Linked DNA regions of Homo sapiens: region 2 is linked to region 1. The links are contacts of gene promoters, found by promoter capture Hi-C in blood cells and fetal thymus (Javierre and others, 2016). All regions are on one chromosome and are shown on one strand. Each heading gives the region's core, a stretch centred on a gene start or on the middle of the fragment in contact. The rest is flanking DNA. Distances are from core to core; before and after follow the strand shown.

What was found. The method cuts DNA at HindIII sites, captures the fragments that hold promoters and counts their contacts. A CHiCAGO score of 5 or more calls a contact.
Region 2: a fragment that was not itself captured here is called in contact with the fragment with the promoter of RNF26 in region 1 in 1 of 17 cell types (neutrophils); the score reaches 5.8 in neutrophils.

The regions. Positions count from the first base shown.
Region 1 is chr11:119,332,139-119,335,887 of GRCh38, reverse strand. It overlaps RNF26 (ring finger protein 26), which reads right to left and starts at 1,361. Exons shown (of 1, transcript NM_032015.5): 1 at 1-1,361. The coding sequence starts at 765. RefSeq lists an enhancer at 828-1,719. The HindIII fragment of the contact is 9,565 bases long and covers 1-3,749 here.
Region 2 is chr11:118,905,749-118,909,390 of GRCh38, reverse strand. BCL9L (BCL9 like) reads left to right here. Exons shown (of 10, transcript NM_001378213.1): 4 at 736-1,121; 5 at 1,789-1,908. Among named protein-coding and RNA genes, the nearest start is that of MIR4492, 3.1 kb to the left of the region's middle. RefSeq lists enhancers at 1-130, 1,859-1,928. The HindIII fragment of the contact is 2,072 bases long and covers 423-2,494 here.

The sequences.
Region 1 (3,749 bases), core at 112-2,611:
GGTAGCCAGCCTCAGGGTGAAGTCCGGATGCAACACAGTCACCGTCACTGCCAGCACACAAGCTAGCAACACCAAGCCAGTGAGATTGACAAGCACAAAGCTGGCCAGGAGGCGGGCAGCTGAGGCCAGCAGCTCCAGGGCTAGTTGGCAGGGTGTCCAAAGGAGGATGGCCATGGCCACAGCACTGCTGGAAATGTGGGCTAGGAAGGCAGCCACTACGTCCGTCATCCTCCACAGAGGCCCGGTCACTGCATCCCACAGGGCCAGCACCAGGGAAAAGAGGTTCTGAGTGCCGATGAGGCAGATGTTGACCAGGCTGTTGATCACATAAGCCACCAGGCTCATGGCAATGGCACAGATGTCACAGGCCTGGCGCAGCAAAGCATGGCCACTGGAGACCACATTGAGGACGCCCCGGTGCAGTATCTCCCTGCTCCGCAGTGCCCCATGAGAGGCCAGGTGCCCCAGGAGCTTTAGGCTCTCTAGGCCAGAGCAGCAGCTATACAGCAGAGTACACAAGGCCTGCAAGCCCCCACATGTGAACCGGACCACGGCTTCGATCAAGGCCAGCAATGAAAGCAAGACTCCGCGGCCCAAGTGCAGAAGACTAGTCAGTACCGTGTGCGGCAGGTTGTAGACGAAGGCCAGGAGCCAGGCCAGGGAAGCCAGGAGGGAGGACACCAGCAGGAAGTTGAGGTCCAACACCAAGGTCAGCACGTCCAGCACCAGGCCCAACCCATTCACTACCAGGTACACTGCCTCCATGATAGGGCTATGGAAGTTAGTCCAAAACAAAGTCTGGCTCCTCGGTTGGGGGGTTGTCAAGGTTGTCAATATTTTAGGGGGTCTGGGATTAATTTGGAAGGAAAATGAGCAGTCTCCAACCCAGGGGGTACCAAGAATCTGAGGAAGAAGTGGGTAAGACGGAAGTGGAGTCTTGGTAGAGGGAAAGGTGGCCAGGTGCCAGTCCAAGAGTCCAGGTTTTGAAGATGGGCTGTTTGGGAGGGAAGAGGCCAAACATCTCTAAAGCGAAGGCGAGCCCAGGCCGTAGGAGCGACCTCAGCTTTGGATGCCTGGTGTGGCGAACCACGGCCGGGCAACGGGTCAGACCGGGAGGAGACGAGGAACGGATGGAATGGGATCGGATCGGATCGGGTCGCGTCGGGTCGGGCCGGGGCCGGGTGGGGTCGATGTAAGCTGGGCGCAGGCTCTCAGTCCAGCTACGCAGGTGCCCCTGTCCCCGCCCGGCCCCCGTCTTCCCGCTAGCGGCGCTTTGCACCCAAAAGGGGAGTGGGAGAGGCAGCCAGCTTCAGCAAACCCCAAGCGCAGCCCCTACTCCGCTGGGCGCCGCCATCTTGTGTGCAAAGGGGTGGAGCCAGAGGCGTGACGAGGAGGGAGGGACGACAAACTCCAGCCAATCGGTGAAGGCCAACCACAAAAACGTCGATCACTCATTGGTCCGTTTGAATGGCGCCCGAACGTATTTACTTTCCAAAGGGAAGGAGAGGCGACAGATTAAATCCCCTCCCCCTTTAGGCGGGGATTGGTTCGTTGGCGGGCAGCGTCGAAATACGCTCTCCTAGCCCCACCCTCTAAAAGAGCAGGGTCTTGGACTCCCCTCAATTTGGGAGCTGTTCTTTCTCCCGGCCTCTGAACGCGAGGTTTTTTTTTTGGCTTGGGTCGGAGGTCACTGCCTCTGGGCTGGGCTTTGGAATAGCACCGCCTTCGCAGCCTGCCCAGATCCGTCTCCTCATTCTCTTCTATTTATTCATCTATTCTATCATTTATTGAACTCCTACAGTGCATTGAGGATACAAAAAAATTTTAAGACAGTGCCTGCTGTTCACAAGGGAAAGCAGATTATTACAGGGGATTCCCAAACTGCTATTCCAAACTTTCCTCACCAGGTTTTTCAACATCTCGGAAGATTACTTCATTGTCATTGAGAAAAAGGGGCTACAGATTTAGAAACCGCTCAGCTTCCTACCCTGGGCCTTCCTACCCTAGAGTGCAGTGGCGCGATCTCGGCTCACTGCAACCTCTGCCTCCCGGGTTCAAGCGATTCTCCTGCCTCAGCCTCCCGGGTAGTACAGGTGCCCACCACCTCACCCGGCTAATTTTTGTATTTTTAGTAGAGACGAGGTTTCACCATGTTGGCCAGGCTGGCCTCGAACTCCTGAACCTCGTGATCCACCCGCCTCGGCCTCCCAAAGTGCTGAGATTACAGGCGTGAGCCACCAAGCCCGGCCCTGCCCTTTTCTTTAATACTCAAACAATAGTCAAAATATATTTGAAACCCCATCCCAAATATATTGGGAATCCTGGCGTTTTCTACTAACTCCAAGGATGCTTAGCAGACTCCTAGTGGACTTATCTTTCCCCTGGTCACCTTTGCTGAATTTCCTACTTGAGTTGAATTCTCCATCTCCACTCCTGGGCTCCTGAAAGTGTCCGTCCTCCTTCAGTCTGCCCTGAACACTGCCTCAGAGTCCTTCATTCTCCAAAGCATCACTGATAAGAAGCTGAGGTGTGCAGCAAACCTTTACTGAGGCCTTGGGATCGTGGTAGGGGTACGCTATAGTGCAGAGGAAGGACTGCAGTCGCTGAAACTCCTCTGGCTTCTTCCTACCCTTTCTCTCTCCCTGCTCTCAGGCCCTGGCCAGGTTATGGTTTGTTGTGTTGTGATGTGTTGCTGATGTTTTTATTTTCCTACTCGCATCCTCCCGCCAGTGTCAAATCTTGGAGAATGTGCCCACCTCCCTTTCAAGACAGTTGATCCCATCGCCCGTACCATCTCCTCTTAAGGGATCTTATTTGTCCAGTGAACACTATGTTGTTATTAATCAATCTTCCTCCAGCACTTGACACCACTTCCTCCACCCTTGGCCTCAGAATCATTACCCTTTCCTATATTCTTTCTGTTTCCATCATAGCCTCCTCTCCTGTATACACGATGATTTCTGAATTTGTGTCTTCAGCCTGAACCTGTCCTGCAAACTTCAGGCTCCAGCTGCTTCCTGGACATGAACGGTTCATGGGTATCCCACTGGTGCTTCCTACACAATATGTCCAAAGTCAAACTTGGCAAACGTGCTGTGCCTGCACTGCGTGCAATTAACTGGCCAGTTTTCCACACCAAGAAGCATGTAAAGTCCTTCTCAGAGTTGGCAGGATCCTCTAAGAGAGAATTTCCATTCGTTTAGGACCAAGACCTCCCCTTTGAGTGATTTGAGACTCACTAATCCAAAGCCCTCTTTAATGAGCCACAACCCTTGACTCCCAGGAAACCTAGCAGGTAATCCTGCTTTGGGCAGGGACAAAGACTCCAACTGGCTTTGGGGAGGCAGTTCAAATTGTTTGACAATGTTAGTCCCAGGGATTGAGAAGAAAATAAGCCAGATATTGAGAAAGCTGAACACCTAGAAGCCCTATCCTTGCAGTATTTTCTAATGGAAGATGTAGTGTAAAGCCCTCTGGAGGCCTGCTCTGGTGGCAGCTGGTTTCTGCTGTTGTGCTAACTTCAGGGGTTTTTTTGTTTAGTTTTGTTTTGCTCAGCGTAAGATTCTAGCTGGGACAATAGAAGGGATTTTTAGAGACTATGAAGGACTGAGGATTAAGAGATTGGAAAAACCAGAAAAGAATGTCTAATTCAGGGGTTTTGTTTTGTGCTATTGTGTATATTACGGCCCTCCCCATCGTCTCCTCATCAAGCATTCAGTAAAATCTATATTATTGCCATGTTTTAGGTT
Region 2 (3,642 bases), core at 209-2,708, 430 kb after region 1:
TTAATAGGTCTCCGGGGAGGGGGAGGCGGCGGGGGGAGCGGGCTGGAGCTTAAAGGGCCCGCAGCCTAGGCTGCAGGAATCCTTGGCTTCAAGCTACACTCCCCATCTGCTTGACACACCGCTCCCCTCCCCCTTTCCTCCTGCTTCTGCCTGCCGGCCTGGCCTGCCAAGCCCCCCTCCTCAGGCCTTCCCCTCCAGCTGTCTGGACCAGTGGGTAGCACTCCCTGGTGTGCGTTTTCCCACTGTCCCTGGGGAATGAGACCCGGGCATGTGCAGTGACCCCAGGTCCTGTGGCCCTTCTCTGCTGGTGTTGGGACATATGGGAGTTGAGGTTTGAGACCTTGGAAGGAGTCTGAAGACAGCAGATCTTAGAAGAGAGGATGCTTAAGTCTGATACAGAGGACAGGGTTGCCACAGAAGCTTGCAGGCTGATGGGTGTTTTGGGGCTGAGGTGGGTGAATTCTGCCAACTCTAGGCCCTGGTTTCCATTCAAATTGTGGAGGCTAGGGGGTGGAGGGTTTCCCCATCTCCACTCCCCAAGGTGGATGAGGGCTTCAGCCCTTGTCTGAGGAAGCCATGGAGGGAGGTAGAGAATAGCTGGTGGTGGTCTTGAGATACCACCCCTTCCCCCCACCCTCCCCCATTGTTAGGGGAGGCAGGATGGGGTAATTAAGTTGCAGGCATGCCTAGCCCCTAGCAAGGTTAACTTTTCACATTTCTCCCACCTCCTCCCAGGTTACCCCACCCCAGGAGGAGAGAAGCTCCAGGGAGCCCGCCGCTGTCCCCCCGCGGTCATTGCCCCCCTGCCCCAGCCAAGCCAATGCACCCAGAAAATAAATTGACCAATCATGGCAAGACAGGGAATGGCGGGGCCCAATCTCAGCACCAGAATGTGAACCAAGGACCCACCTGCAACGTGGGCTCGAAGGGCGTGGGGGCGGGGAACCATGGGGCCAAGGCCAACCAGATCTCGCCTAGCAACTCAAGTCTGAAGAACCCCCAGGCAGGGGTGCCCCCTTTCAGCTCGCTCAAGGGCAAGGTGAAGAGGGACCGGAGTGTGTCTGTGGACTCTGGAGAGCAGCGAGAGGCTGGGACCCCATCCCTGGATTCAGAGGCCAAAGGTACCCCATTTCCTCATCCCTAAGACCCTAGCATCTCCCATAGTCCAAGGCTCAGATGTTCTGGGAGATCACCTCTCTGCTCCCTGCTTGTCCAGTCCTCATCCCACGTTCTTCTCCAGTATTTCTGCATGGGTACCTTTCAACACCCACCAACCAGATCATTCGGGATTGGGGTTGGCCATGATGCCACCCATGGAGGGGCCACACAGAGTGGTCGGACTTCTGGACTCCTTCCCCTCCTGCTTTCCCACCAGAGCTCCAGAAGGGGAGAGGGAGGTGCCATGGAGTGAGGAGCAGACCCCAGACCCACACACTTCCAGGAGCCTCCGTATCCCGGCTGGTGGGAGCCCTTTGGGAGCAGGCACTGGGGCCTGGAAGAGTAGCAGCAGCTCCCCCTCCCCTCCAGCCCTAATTAGAACCAGTTGTGGTTGGGGATTATGCTGTACTTGGTGTTGGGGGGGAGGGGAGACAGGCATGGGGCTATAGAGAGAAATCAGAAACAAATGGTGGCGTGGTGGGGGCCACGGGCTGGCGAAGTGCCCACCATGGCCTGGGCAGTGCCCTCTAGGGTGGGGCATCTTAGAGAATGGATCTGGGAGGGACCCTGGGTGTGGGAGAATAATGGGGCCTCTAGGCACTCACTCTTTCCTCCGTCCTGCCTGGGCAGAGGTGGCGCCGCGGAGTAAGCGGCGCTGTGTGCTGGAGCGGAAGCAGCCGTACAGTGGGGACGAATGGTGCTCTGGACCGGACAGTGAGGAGGACGACAAGCCCATTGGGGCCACCCACAGTGAGTGCCTGTCGATGCCAGGGTGCTGTAGCCCGTGATGTTCCTGGGGGATGGACTTGAGAGGACTGAGCCTGGGAAAGAAGTGAGGACTGGGAGTCCTGGATTTTTCTCTCCCATCCTACCTCTCAGACTCTGTCCCTCCCTACACTGCAACTGCCTCGCCTCTGCCTTCCAGGTGCTCAGTGACCCCCTCTCCCTAGGGACCCTAGGTGGGGCAGAGTGGAGTGGCCTCCTTCTTGGTCACGTCACCTGCACCTCTACCTGTGAATTCCTGGCCTATGCTGCCACCTACTGGTTAGTGGAGGGAGGGCGGTGAAGCGTCCAGGGACACTGGGAGCCGGGCAGTTGGCTCTGCTGTGCAAAGCCCTGCTAAGCCTGGGTGTGAGTTGCCACTTGGCCGTGTCTCTAGTGCCCTTCCCTAACCTCTAATTGACTCCTGGCAAGTACCCAGGGTGTGTCACCAGGACAAGAAGTGGGTGTGGAGGGATGCCCACTCCTCCTCTGATTCTTTTATGGATTCGCCTATATCTTGTCCTTCCATGAGTGATGGGGGAGAGCCAGATGTAACCCCTGCCCCTGGGAAGCTTGTACATATTTTTTTTCCCTCAAAGTTTACGTTTACATCTTTTTGAGGAGAGAGACATAAGAAACTAGCCAGAGAGGCTGGGTGTGGTGGCTGTCACCTGTAATCCCCAGAATTTGGGGAGCTGAAACCGGAGAATTGCTTGAGCCCAGGAGTTCAAGAACAGCCTGGCCAACATAGGGAGACCCCATCTCTAAAAAGAGAGAGAGAGAGAAAGAAAGGAAAGAAGTAAAGAAAGAAGAAAAAGAAACTAGCCAGAGACTATTAAATTGTGAACTCCTTGAAGGCAGGGACCATAGAAAGAAGAAAGAAAAGAGTACATTGGCTACTTTGCTACTCTGTTTTATTTAATCCTTACAACAGCCCTGTGAGGTCAGTGTTATCATGATGCCAATTACAGAGGAGGAGAGAGAGTCAGCAAATGTTATGGAGTGAGCAGACTATGTCTGTGACAGGGGTGTAGAGGGTCAAATACCAAACCTCTACAGCTAGCTGGAACCTCACAGACCATCCTGTATCAGTTCTCTCTCCCCCGTGGGACTAACCTGGTGGTCGCCAAGCCTCTGGCTGAACCCTTTGATGATAGAAGCCTTTACTGCTTCCCAGACCAGACACCTCCCCCCATAGCCACCACCTCCAGTTCACTTATGTCACATCAGACTGCACCATTGTAGAAACTTTGTGAGTTTTATTTATTTATTGTTTAGAGACAGGGTCTCTCTCTGACACCCAGGCTGGAGTGCAGTGGTGTGATCACAGCTCACTGCAACCTCAAACTCCTGAGCTCAAGTGATCCTCCCATCTCAGACTCCCAAGTAGCTGGGGCTCAGGCATGTATCACACCTGGCTAATTTTTGTAGAGACAGTCTTGCCATGTTGCCCAGGCTGATCTTGAACTCCTGGTCTCAAGCGATCCTCATGCCTTGGCCTCCCAAAGTGCTGGAATTACAGGAGTGAGCCACTGTGCCTGGCAAACATAGGGAAATACAAAGTAGAAATTGCTAACATCCCATACTCAAGGCGACTATTTTAGTCGTACTACCCTTAGATTCTTTTATTTATTTATTTATTTATTTATTTTTGAATCGGAGTTTCACTCTTGTTGCCCAGGCTGGAGTGCAATGGCACGAACTCGGCTTACTGCAACCTCT